Regions from separate parts of the Homo sapiens genome. Here regions 2 and 3 are each linked to region 1. The links are contacts of gene promoters, found by promoter capture Hi-C in human tissues and cell types (Jung and others, 2019). All regions are on one chromosome and are shown on one strand. Each heading gives the region's core, a stretch centred on a gene start or on the middle of the fragment in contact. The rest is flanking DNA. Distances are from core to core; before and after follow the strand shown. Region 1 holds the start of EFNA2 (ephrin A2). Region 2 holds the start of POLR2E (RNA polymerase II, I and III subunit E). Region 3 overlaps DAZAP1 (DAZ associated protein 1).

Region 1 (4,012 bases), core at 1,025-3,524:
CCCTGGATACCGCAGGCAGGAGAGGAAGGAGGAGGCAGCCTCGGTGCTGCCCAGGTCGGCTCTGCGGACCAGCAAGGCCGTTCCCTCAGGCAGCGGTTTGAGCTGGGCAACCAGGTCAGACCCGGAGCAACAGGAGGTGGCTGGGCCAAGCCAGGCACTGGGGAGGCCACTTCCTTCCCCTGGCCGGGGGTCCGGCCCGCAGCCCACAGCCCTGTGGCAGGTGGGGCAGCAGGACGGCCCTGGTGACCACCTTCCTCCCCCGGTTGCCGGGTCCTCGTGTGTTTGGCGTTTGCTAGAACAAAGGACAGGCCACGCTGGGGACGGGAGATTCCGCAGCTGAAACCAAAAACTTGGGCCGGGGAAGCGCTGCCCGCTGGACTCCCCGCACGGCCAGCGACAGCCTTAATCAAACCCACATGTGACCAGCACAGCGGGCGGCTCGGGGACCCGCTCTGAGGTGGGCCAGCCGTCCCCCAGCGGCCCGGGGTCCCTGCCCTCAGCCCCCAGGGCCCGACCCGAGGCCGTTGACCAGGGTGGGGGGTGGGCCTGTGCGTGTTCCCCACCCCCACGGCGGAACACGGGCCGCCCTTGTCCCCGAGCCCGCCTCAAAGAGACCCCTTCATGCAACTTTCCTCCCGGGGACCGAGGACAGCAGGAGACAGAGGGGACAAGGAGGGGTGGCGGGCTCCAGAGGGCGGCTCGGTCGGCACAGGAAGCGGCTGGAAAACGGAGAGAAAGTGACCAGTAGCAGAAGAGTGGGGGGGGGCCGCCTCAGCCCCCGATGTGCAGCTCCGTGTGCCTTAGGAAGACGGTGACACCCTGAGTGCTGGGGCTGACTCCCTCCCGAGCCCCAGGACCCCCAAAGCCCCGGCTCCCACGGGACCCCCAGGGAAGCTGCAGCCTGCTCCTGTCTTGGAGACCCTGGGATGGTTCAGAGGGTTCTACCCACGTCCAGGCCATGGCCAGGCCCCGGCAAACTTTTTTTGCTCTGACCAACGGGGGCTTCTCCTGTCCCCCACGTTGTGCCTGGCCCGGACCTGGTTCAAAACAAGGGGGCCTGCAGCAGGCGGGTGCGGCATCTCGGCCGGGCGTGGCAGGCAGGGCACTGGGCCACCTGGGTCCTGCCCCCAAGTCCCCCCCTTGCATGACCTTGAGCCAGCTCCTCATCCCCTCTGCACCTCAGTTTCCTGGTCAGCGCCCAGAGGACAAGAGAGGACTCCATCCCACTGCCCCTCCCGGGGCTGACCCCCAGCTCCCCGGCCCCTCAGTCTCCTTTCAAAGCTGGGCCCTTGGCCCCCTGGAGTGAAGCAGATGCTGGGTCCTGAGGGAGGGACACTCCAACTTCCCCAAGTTCATCTGGGGACCTGCGGGCAGGACGAACCCAGAGATCCCTCGAGGGCCACAGTCCCCCACCTCCGGTGCCAAGGTCCCCGGGGATCCCCACCAAATGCGAAACCGAGGGGGCTCCCCAGAGAAGCGGGTGGATCAGGGGTCCCCCCAAGTCCAGGCAGGCAACTCAGGGGCTACCCGGCATCGGAGGGTACCAGAGGGGTTCCCCAAACTCCAGGAGACGTCGGCGCTCTGGGGGATGTGGGGCGCGAGTCCCCACAGTCCGTAGGGCAATGGGGCGCCCCGGGGAAGGCAGGCGCGAAAAGGGCGAGTCCCCCAAACTCCGGGGGGCCGGAGCTCCCTGGGGGGCTCCCGCGGGAACCGGGCGCCCGCATCCCGGCGGCGGCGCGCGCGTGGGGGGCGCCCGGAGCTCCGGGGGCGCGAGGCCGGGCGCGGCTTGGGGGGCGTTGGGGGGTCCCCGGGCGCCCCCCGCGCGCGGCCGCGCTCACCTGGGGTTGCTGCGGTTCCAGTAGACGGCGTAGCGGTCCGAGTTGGCGCGGGCGGCGTCCTCGGCGCGCGCGAAGGGCGGCGGCGGCAGCGGTAACAGCAGGAGCAGCAGCGGGAGCAGCGGGCGCTGCGCGGGCGCCATGGCCCCGGTCCGGCCGCCGCGCTCGCTCTCCCGGCCGCCGCCTGCCAGCCTTCTCCGCCTCCTCCGCCGCCGCCGCCGCCGCCGAGCGGGCGGGCGGAGGGCGGGCGGGAGGAGGGCGCGGCGGCGCTTGGAGATCCCGGGCCGCCCCCGCCTCCGCGCGCGCGACCTCGGGCGCCGAGAAGTCAGGCGGCGGCGGGGCGGGGCGCCGGGGTCGCCCCGGGCGCAGGACCCGGCCGCGCGGACTGTCGGAGCGCGGGCCGCCGCCGCCGCACCCGCCGGGGAGGGGCCCGGGCTCCGGCCTTTGTCCCGCCCGAGCGTCGGGAGGGCCGCGGGCGCCCCCTCCCGCCGTGCCCCGGCCGCGCGGGGACTGGGCGGGGGTCTCCAGCCTGCGCCCGCCCCCTGCCCCGGCCCACCCCGTCTCAGGCTCGTCCCCCGGGGCCTGCCCCCAGCGACCCCGATTCTGCGCGCCCCCCGCCGGCATCCGCGTGGCCCGGCCTGGGGTCTCCGAGGGGCGGGGGCGCACCCTGCCTCCCGCGCCCCCACGCGCTCCACCCGGCCCGGCCCTGGGTCCCGGGCCTCTCACCTGCCCGGTTCCAGCGCTATCCGCAGCCTCACCAACCCCGACGCACGCGTCCCAAATCGGGCTCGGCCAACTCCAGTCTCCCTGCGGGGGCCGGGGCAGAGTTTCAGAGGGGCGCTGGCCAAAGTCCAAAGCTGCTCGGGCTGCGACCTCCCTGGGGCCCTCCTGGGAGTCGCCTCTCCGGACCCACGCTGTTCCCTGGGGATGGAGTAAGTCCCTACACCTCAGCCCTAAGGGTGCCGGGAGCATAGTAGGTGGACCGATGTGGAGTGTGAGCAGCTGGGGATGGGATCCAAGAAGCCCAGAGTGAAGCCCCGGCCGACAGCAAATCAGTCTCCACGCACGAATCCTGCAGGCAGGGGAGGGCCGCTGCCCGGGGGCACAGCTTGTGCAAAGACCCGGGGTCTGATCTGTTCAGGGAACGCCGAGTGATTTCTCCTCCTGGTAGGCTGACACAGGTGGGGAACTGGGGGCCTGGCCTCTGCTTTGTCTTTTTTCCAATCTATAGAGACAGTGTCTGGCCATGTTGGCCACGCTGGTCTTGAACTCCTGGGCTCAGGCGATCTTCCCACCTGGGCTTCCCAAAGTGCTAGGATTACAGGCGTGAGCCACTGCACCTGGCCTGCCCTCTGTTTTTGCCCTTATTCATGCCACAGCCTCCCTCACCAGACTCTGAGCTTGTGGAGGGTAGGCTGTCATCAAACGCTGGCTGGACTTTGCTGGCGATGCCCAGATCGTGTTGTACGTCTCTGAATTAGTGTCATTCACCAGGCCCAGTGCAGGAGAGGGAACTGCAGGGCAAGCACCAACAGCCCTTGGACCCGAAGGTCCCTGTGTGAGGCATTACCCAAACTCCTGGCAGGGACCGTGAACCCAGAGATGGGCAAGCTAACCTGTGCCCCAGCAAGGTGGGGTGGGGACCGGACCCACCACCGTCCCACAGCTCTGAGACGTGGTGGGCTCTGTCCTGTGTCTCCTGCGTGCCCTCCTCCCCCGATTCCCCAGCGGGCCACGCGGGCCACACCACCTGACCTTTGTTCAGGCTGGGTCCTGCTGGGAAGTCCTTCCACTTTTTCTTCCTGTTAAAATCTTGCTCTTCCAGAAAGGTCTGTCCCACCCAGTGCTCTAGCGTCCCTGCCAGGACAAGGTTCTCAGTTCTCTCTCCTCCAGGGAGCTCAGCCCGTCTGTTCTGAGCTCCAGGTCTCATCCCCTGACCCCACTACAGACGTCCCAGGTCGAAGGCCCAGGGCTGGCCGGGTGTCTCTTCAGTGGAGGGCGTGAACCTGTCCCAGGTGGTGGCTGAGGCAGGCCCTCTGGACAGGCTCTCTCAGCACCCCTGGAGTGAGGGCCTTGGGTTCTAGCCACACAAGGCTCTGTAGCCCAGACAGGCTGGAGAAGCTTCCCGGGCGGCTCCGTCTGGTGGGGGGCTCTTTTAGGGAGGGGGACGGCCACTC
Region 2 (4,012 bases), core at 1,513-4,012, 190 kb after region 1:
TGCCCCTTCCCTGCCAGGAACACTCCAGGTGAGGCACAGCCCCAGAGCCTCTATCCTGGCTGTGCTGTCTGCCTGATACAGCTATCCCCAGGCAACCCCAGGTTTCCTCCCTCTCCTCTTCTGGTTTTTGTTTGTTTTCTGTTTGTTTGGAGACAGTGTCTTGCTCTGTCGCCCAGGCTAGAGTGCAGTGGCGCAATCACAGCTCACTGCAGCCTCAACCGCTGGGCTCAGGCGATCCTAGATCTTCCCACCTCAGCCTCCCGAGTAACTGGGACTACAGGTGCGCCCACCACGCCCAGCTAATTTTTAAATTTTTTTGTAGAAATGGGGTCTTCCTGGCCGGGTGCGGTGGCTCACGCCTGTAATCTCAGCACTTCGGAAGGCCGAGGCAAGCAGATGATCTGAGGTCAGAAGTTCAAGACCAGCCTGGCTAACATGGTGAAACCCCATCTCTACCAAAAATACAAAAAAATTAGCCAGGTGTGGTGGCTCACGCCTGTAATCCCAGCTACTCGGGAGGCCAAGGCAGGAGAATCCTTTAAACCCAGGAGGCGGAGGCTGCAGTGAGCTGAGATTATGCCACTGTACTCCAGCCTGGGCAACAGAGCGAGACTCGGTCTCAAAAAACAACAACAACAACAAAAAAGAAATGGGGTCTTCCTATGTTGCCTAGGCTTGTCTCAAACTCCTGGCCTCAAGGTGAGAAAGAAAAGTTAGGTAGTTAGATAAGAAAGCCTGCACAGACCGGGCGGGGTGGCTCACACCTGTAATCCCAGCACTTTGGGAGGCCGAGGCGGGCGGATCATGAGGGCAGGAGATGGAGACCATCCTGGCTAACACGGTGAAACCCCGTCTCTACTAAAAATACAAAAAATTAGCCGGGCGTGGTGGCAGGTGCCTGTAGTCCCAGCTACTCGGGAGGCTGAGGCAGAAGAATGGCGTGAACCCGGGAGGTGGAGCTTGCAGTGAGCCGAGATCCTGCCACTGCACTCCAGCCTGGGGGACAGAGCGAGATTCCGTGTCAGGAAAAAAAAAAAAAGTAGCCCCTGACAGCCCCCCAAAAAGAATCTCAAATATCAGTGTAAAAAAGTCCGTGACTTACAACTAAAAATTACAAAACTACAACAAAGGGATCCTCCCCTCTCAGCTTCCCAAAGTGCTGGGATTACAGGTGTGAGCTATCGCGCCCAATGGGATTTTTTTTTTTTTTTCTCGATGGAGTCTTGCTCTGTCACCCAGGCTGGAGTGCAGTGGTGCGATCTCGGCTCACTGCAACCTCCGCCTCCCGGGTTCAAGTGATTCTCCTGCCTCAGCCTCCCGAGTAACTGGGAGTACAGGCACCCACCACCAAACCTGGCTAATTTTTGTATTTTTAGTAGAGACAGGGTTTCACCATGTTGGCCAAGCTGGTCTGGAACTCCTGATCTCATGCTCTGCCTGCCTCGGCCACCCAAAGTGCTGGGATTACAGTGATGAGCCACCACTGCTAATGGGATTTTTGCTTGAATCTATCCTCACTGTATTCCCTGACCTCCCCATGTGATACTGCAGTTCTCCCATTCTCCCCATGTCACTTAGCCTCCCTGCTCTTTCTTCTTCCGTAGCTTTGTCACTTTCTAACGTTGTTATTTATTTTATTTTATTTCATTTCATTTTATTTTTGAGACAGAGTCTTGCTCTGTTGTCCAGGCTGGAGTGCAGTGGCACGATCTTGGCTCACTGAAACCTCCACCTTACAGGTTCACGAGATTCTCCTGCCTTAGCCTCCTAAGTAGCTGAGACTACAGGCACCTGCCACCTGGCCCAGCTAATTTTTTGTATTTTTAGTAGAGACGGGGTTTCACCGTGTTAGCCAGGATGGTCTTGAACTCCTGATCTCATGCTCTGCCCGCCTCAGCCTCCCAAAGTGCTGGGATTATAGGCATGAGCCACCGCGCCCGGCCACGTTATTTATTATATTTTACTAAATCCTGTCTTTATCTGAATGCAAGGGATACTTGGCCTGTTTTATTCACCATCACTGTAGGTTGCTGAGTAAATGTTGAATTAACGAATGCATCACTGAATAAGTTACTGATAGCCTGCACACAGGAAGTGTTGGGCTGGGGTTCTCCGTGAACCTGGGGAAGTGAGGAGGTTTGCAAAGACAGGAAGAGTCTGGGGTGGGGAGATACCCAGGCTAGGCTGGGGAGATACCCAGGCTAGGCTGGTGGCGCTCAGGGGAGAGGACAGAGGTGAGGGGACTTAATAAGCACCTAGAGAGATGCCTAAGACTCTCAGTTAACCGTCTAAAGTAGGGACACTTTATTGCCATTGCACAGGTAGGGAAACTGAGGCCCAAGGGAATTAACCCTGACCTGGCCAGGAGCCAATGGAGGAAACCCTGTACAGTTTGATGCACAAATATTTATAGAGTTCCCACTAGGCTCCCAGACCATCCCTAGGAGCCGAGCTGCCCCTTGACCCCATCCAGGCCTCAGTTTCCCCGCTCACACTTCGCCCCCGCCTCGTGGGATTCTAAACTGTTGCTCCAAGGTGGGAGTTGAACGGAAACTACAACTCCCGAGAGGCTGTGCGGCCAAAGACACACGAGAACTACGGAGGCGAGAGACTCGCTCAGCCAACTGCCGCTCTCGTAAGGCTCGGGCTGCCCTTGGCGCTGCCGATCCGAGACGTTGCTGCATTCAGGCATTCGCCGACGACAGACCAGCGCGGGGCGGGGTTAGGCGGAGGGGGCCTGATTCGGATTCGGCGCAGGCGCAGTCCGCGCGGGTTCTCGCGCGGAGAAGGGGTGCGAGCGGCGGCGGCGGCGGAGGCTGCCATGGACGACGAGGAGGAGACGTACCGGCTCTGGAAAATCCGCAAGACCATCATGCAGGTGAGCCGCGCCTGGTGTTGGGGGCGGGGGCGCGGGCGGCGGGTGTAGGGGCCCGAGGTGGGGTCGAGCACGGCGTCTCCTCGTACTCTCGTCGGAGCAGCAGCGATGAAGGGCCGGGCCGATACGGGAGGCCCAGAGGTCGCCGGGGATACCAGGCGCTGGACCCGACCTGAGCCGGCAGCGGGGAAGGGAGGGGGTTTCGAGACGTCTGGGTGCGGTGCTTAGGGGTGGGTGGGCGGCTTGGGCTGGTGCGGCGCGCGTGGCGGCGAGAGGAGGAGGAAGCCGCGAATGGGGACGGGGGGCGCCCCCAGACTCTGCCCTTCTCTGTGATTCAGCGTCGCTATTTGTCCTTGCGTCCTGAACCCCATGGAGTCTTCAGCATCCGAGGCTGGCAGAGTTGGTGGTTGGGAAGCAGCGGGCGAGCTGGGGCTTTCGATGGGGACGTGGAGCTCGGAACCCGTGCCTTGGGGTCTGGGGCAGATGGAGGCCACTGGGTCGAGTCCGGTTTGGAAGCCGGGCACAGGCCTGAGGACCTGCGGTTCAGGGTATTGCCTCAGCCATTGGGGCCGTTTGAGAGCTTTTGCTTTGTCTTGCTTCCCACCCTTTGCCCTTGTCCTCAGCGAAGCCCCCCGCAGCCTGATTCTTCTTTCTCCGATCCTCAAACATTGTCAGCCTGAAGTCACATCTGTTTCGGTCCCTGTCATTTTTTTTTTTTAAGAGATAGGGTTTCATTCTGTCGCCCAGGCTGCAGTGCAGTGGTGCAATCATAGCTCACTGCATCCTTGAACTGGCCTCCAGCAACCCTCCTGCCTCAGCCTCCCTAAGTACTGGGATCACGGGCGTGAGCCTCCGCGCCCCGCCTTTGTCCCTGCCTTTAGGGTAGCTCTGCAAAGTGGTTTGGAGGGCTTTGCTCCCTGCCAGGTTTCTGTGAGGCTGGGTGGACAGACGGTCTTGGTCAAGGCTGGACATCTCTGGGAGCCTCTCAGGATCATACTGGTCCCATCCTGTGGTGTGAGGCTGTGGGGGCCGGGGTGGCTGTCATGGAGCACACAGTGAGTGTTCATCCCGTTTGCTGTTCACCTCTGTCCTCTGCAGCAGCCGCAGGTCTGACTTCCGGGTCACGAGCTTTGGCCG
Region 3 (4,012 bases), core at 785-3,284, 130 kb before region 1:
CATGAGTGTGCGCGTGGGGTGAGTGCTCGCCGCCGTGACGTTCGGGGTGGTTTCATGAGTGTGCGCGTGGGGTGAGTGCTCGCCGCCGTGACGTTCGGGGTGGTTTCATGAGTGTGCGCGTGGGGTGAGTGCTCGCCGCCGTGACGTTCGGGGTGGTTTCATGAGTGTGCGCGTGGGGTGAGTGCTCGCCGCCGTGACGTTCGGGGTGGTTTCATGAGTGTGCGCGTGGGGTGAGTGCTCGCCGCCGTGACGTTCGGGATGGTTTCATGAGTGTGCGCGTGGGGTGAGTGCTCGCTGCCGTGACTGTAGGGATGGTTTCATGAGTGTGCGCGTGGGGTGAGTGCTCGCCGCCGTGACTGTAGGGATGGTTTCATGAGTGTGCGCGTGGGGTGAGTGCTCGCCGCCGTGACTGTAGGGATGGTTTCATGAGTGTGCGCGTGGGGTGAGTGCTCGCTGCCGTTGACGATCGGGATGGTTTCATGAGTGTGTGCGTGGGGTGAGTGCTCGCTGCCGTGACGGTCGGGATGGTTTCACGAGTGTGTGCGTGGGGTGAGTGCTCGCTGCCGTGACGGTTGGGATGGTTTCATGAGTGTGTGCGTGGGGTGAGTGCTCGCTGCCGTGACGGTCGGGATGGTTTCATGAGTGTTTGTATGGGTCAGAATCATCAAGTGGTGCAGTTTACTACGTGCCCATTATATCTTAAGAAAAGCTAGAGAGACATTAATAACCAGATGGAATATGAACCTTGGATTCCAGTCTGAAAAAAACCAGCTATGAGAGACACTTGTGAAACAATTCTGGAGCTGGGAACACGGCCTGGACACAGATGACACGGGATTCCCTGCAGCCGCTTTCCAGCGTGCTGACGGTGGGTGCATGCGAGGGGTGGCCGTCATTTTAGGAGACGCACCCTCCGGTCCTTAGGAATGGTGTATGTGGACAGAGATGGATGTAAATACATATAGACCCCACCCTGCTGCCCACACTGTGGAGAGGCTGGCACCCGGTGCCTCAGCAGGCCTCCAGGTCTGCACTGTCCAGCACGTTCTATGGGGCTAAGAGCTTTCCCATCTGCACCGCCCCACCAGGCTCCTGGTGCCGGTGTGAGAACTGCAGGGCTGGAGGAAGGTGAGGTGTGGGTGGTGGTGAGACCCAAATGCCAAGGAGACCCCATGCCAGGACAGTGCCCTGTCGGCCAGGCAAGCACCAGGGCGCAGGTCAGAGAACCCAAGTTGCCACGTCAGGGGATCTCAAGTGGAGCAGTAAAGTGGCCAGCACGAGCTGACACAGCCCGGCCCAGCCCCGGCAGTGGAAGGATGGCCCACCTCTGAGGAGGGCCAGGCAGTGGGAGGGGGCAGGCCCGGCACAGAGGGCACACAGGGCACAGAGGGAAGCTGACTGGCTCCTGATAATCAGTGGCATGAGCTGTCATTTTTTTTTTCCCTAAGATAGATTAGTAAGAATTTTCTTGGCTGTAAAACACTCACGGCACTGATAAATCTGGGTGATCCTCAGCTGCTCGAGTGCCAACCCAGAAGACCTGCGTCGCCCTCAATCTTAACGAGCGACAACAGCAGATTGAAGGCACGCATTTCCTTTCCACGTGGAGTGGAGAACACACAAGGAGGCCGCCCGGCCCAGCCCCTTACCCATCCTTCCTTCGGCCGTGTTCTCTCCGGCTGCATCCCCCGGGGTGTGCATGGCTTGGGGTCGATCTGCAGGAAATTTCAAATCAGCTGGTTGTGAATAAGAGGCTGTTTCTCTAGGAAAGAGGGTGTCAGCACAACAGCAGCCACGGCACAGCAGCCCGGCCCGCCCCGCCCCGCCGGCTCCATTCACCCTGTATCCTCCTGCAATATCCAGCCTCAGCACCAAGGCTTAATCCTTCCCAATCGACCCCACGTTCAAACATACTCTAACGCAAACATCGGTCAGAGTCCAGGAAAAAATGAAGCAGAGGAAGGACAGGGGAGACAGAGAGCGGGTGTGAGCTCCCGGAAGGGCACTTACGTTTCGGCCATCTAGCGTGTGCGGTCTGCTGGCCAGCACCGTCCCCACACAGTTTGGGTCTTTAAATTTGACAAACCCAAAGCCTCGAGACTGGTTGGTGGTTTTATCTTTCATGATAACACAATCTACGACTTCTCCATATTGGGAAAAGTAGCTGCGCAGAGTCTCTGCTCAGAAATCGGGAAGAAAACACAAACACACAGGGCCAGAGCATTAGGCACGTGCCTGGCAGTGCTGCCGGCACGCACACTCCTCCAGTCCACCAGCCACGCACCGAGCGATGCTGCACTGGGGGTGGGGGGTGTACGGGAAGCGCTGGGGAATTCTGCCCAACACACACTTGAGGTCCTCACGTAAATCAGGGGCTGCCAGTGAGCACAGCAGTGGCCAGCGGTTACAACCTGACTTTGTAGGCGTCCAGGAAGGCAACGTTTAAGGCAAGGCAAACAAGACAACTCTGAATGCTGGCAGTGGCCAAGGAGCGCCGACTTTGCTACACACTCTTTCCTCCTATTCTGAACTCAGTAACAGCCTGGCCAGCCCCCAGCCCTCTGCACTTCCAGACAACAGCTGTCTGCCTCCACAAGCCACCTCAGCCCGGAGCTAGGAACCTGCAGCCTGAGGTCTTCCCTGTAACTTGGGATGGAAATACCAAATTAACAGTCTCAGAGCAAATACACACTTACTCTGTCCCCTGCCCAGAAATCAGAACAACGTCAAAAGGACTTTAAAATATCCAAGACAGTAGCAAGAGGCGGGCAGACACAACTTGAAGGCCGAGGTCCTAGAGCCCATCTGCAGTACCCACCTGACACCCCTTCCCCACCTACCTTGGGTCGTGCTCCAGTCAAGACCGCCCACGAAGAGCTTCCTGCGATTCAATGAGAAAACATTCAGGATCAAGACAGCGCTCGCCTTAGAAATGCCCCCATCCAAGCCAAGCTGAGGTCTTAATTCAAACCACAGAAGCAGCTGACGCAAACGTCCTTGTGCACGTGACGGCATACAAAGCTCACAGCAATGGCGAGTCAGCCTCGCCCATGCTGTCTGCAGACATGAAAGATGATCCCAATCCTTGCCATGGGGAGAGGACCGTGCCACAGAGCCGCACGCTGACCTCATGCGTGGCGGGCGATGAGTTCCTGGGACAGGCCAGTGGTGACGGCACCACGCTCACCTGCACTGCTGCCAAGTGGGACACAGGCTCGCTTTCCTACAGCTTTTGCGAGTATTTTATAATCAGGAAAAAGAATGTAGAAGTCTACATCTGAAATGATGCACAGTAAACTAGAAGCCTATGCCACACGGCCTCTGAATTACAGCCTGGGGCGGGGGTGGGGGGACACAGACAGAAGCCTCCCAATGAGCCTGCACTCACGAACTAACGAGAGGCCCACAGATGAAGGTGAAGGCCCTGAAGCTCCAGTCTCAGCACTGGCCCCACTTACTTACCCCCGACAAACCCGCGCCACCCCCATTCTGGGGCTGTCTCTTATTGGCAGATGAGAAGGGCCTGAAATTCAGTCTCAGCACTGGCACTTCCTGCCTGCCCCCACCAAAGACCCGCGCCACCCCCGTCCTGGGGCTGTCTCCTCCGGGCAGAAGAGCTGGAGCTCTCCCAAGGCGTCCGCCATCGACCCTGCAGCGACGCCCAAGGGCCCACTCACCTTTCCACCTCACTGCCGCTCCAGGTGGCCCCAGGGCCTTGGCTGTGCCAACTCCCAATGGGGACTGTGCCAACTCCCAATGGGGACTGTGCCACCTTGAGTCAGCCATGGCACCCACTGGGCATGTCTGAGACACCACAAGGCTTACCCAGGCACGGGGCCTTAGATGTCATTCAAGCTTCCCCCAAGCCCAGGAGGCAGGGAAGAGGTGGTTCTATCGGCGACTCTCCCATCCTGCCTGCTTTCCCTGGGAAAGAGGACACGCATTCAGAAATGAAGTCCCTGAGCTGAATCTCAGCTGTGACTCAGTGCCAGCACCATCATCACCCTTGGTC

Evidence for each region. Contacts are between HindIII fragments. The study calls those that stand out against the background at their distance.
Region 2: the fragment with the promoter of POLR2E here is called in contact with the fragment with the promoter of EFNA2 in region 1 in 2 of the 25 tissues and cell types used here (H1 embryonic stem cells and mesendoderm cells).
Region 3: a fragment that was not itself captured here is called in contact with the fragment with the promoter of EFNA2 in region 1 in 3 of the 25 tissues and cell types used here (dorsolateral prefrontal cortex, heart left ventricle and lymphoblastoid cells).

What each region holds. Positions count from the first base shown.
Region 1 is chr19:1,284,135-1,288,146 of GRCh38, reverse strand. EFNA2 (ephrin A2) reads right to left here and starts at 2,274. Exons shown (of 4, transcript NM_001405.4): 1 at 1,839-2,274. The coding sequence starts at 1,978. RefSeq lists enhancers at 1-184, 2,189-2,689, 2,690-3,190. The HindIII fragment of the contact is 32,397 bases long and covers 1-4,012 here.
Region 2 is chr19:1,094,125-1,098,136 of GRCh38, reverse strand. It overlaps POLR2E (RNA polymerase II, I and III subunit E), which reads left to right and starts at 2,762. Exons shown (of 8, transcript NM_002695.5): 1 at 2,762-2,878. The coding sequence starts at 2,822. RefSeq lists enhancers at 2,729-2,818, 3,576-4,012. The HindIII fragment of the contact is 36,385 bases long and covers 1-4,012 here.
Region 3 is chr19:1,416,369-1,420,380 of GRCh38, reverse strand. DAZAP1 (DAZ associated protein 1) reads right to left here. Exons shown (of 12, transcript NM_018959.4): 2 at 2,841-2,881; 3 at 2,011-2,177; 4 at 1,650-1,715. Among named protein-coding and RNA genes, the nearest start is that of DAZAP1, 11 kb to the right of the region's middle. RefSeq lists enhancers at 3,259-3,853, 3,854-4,012. The HindIII fragment of the contact is 6,564 bases long and covers 1-4,012 here.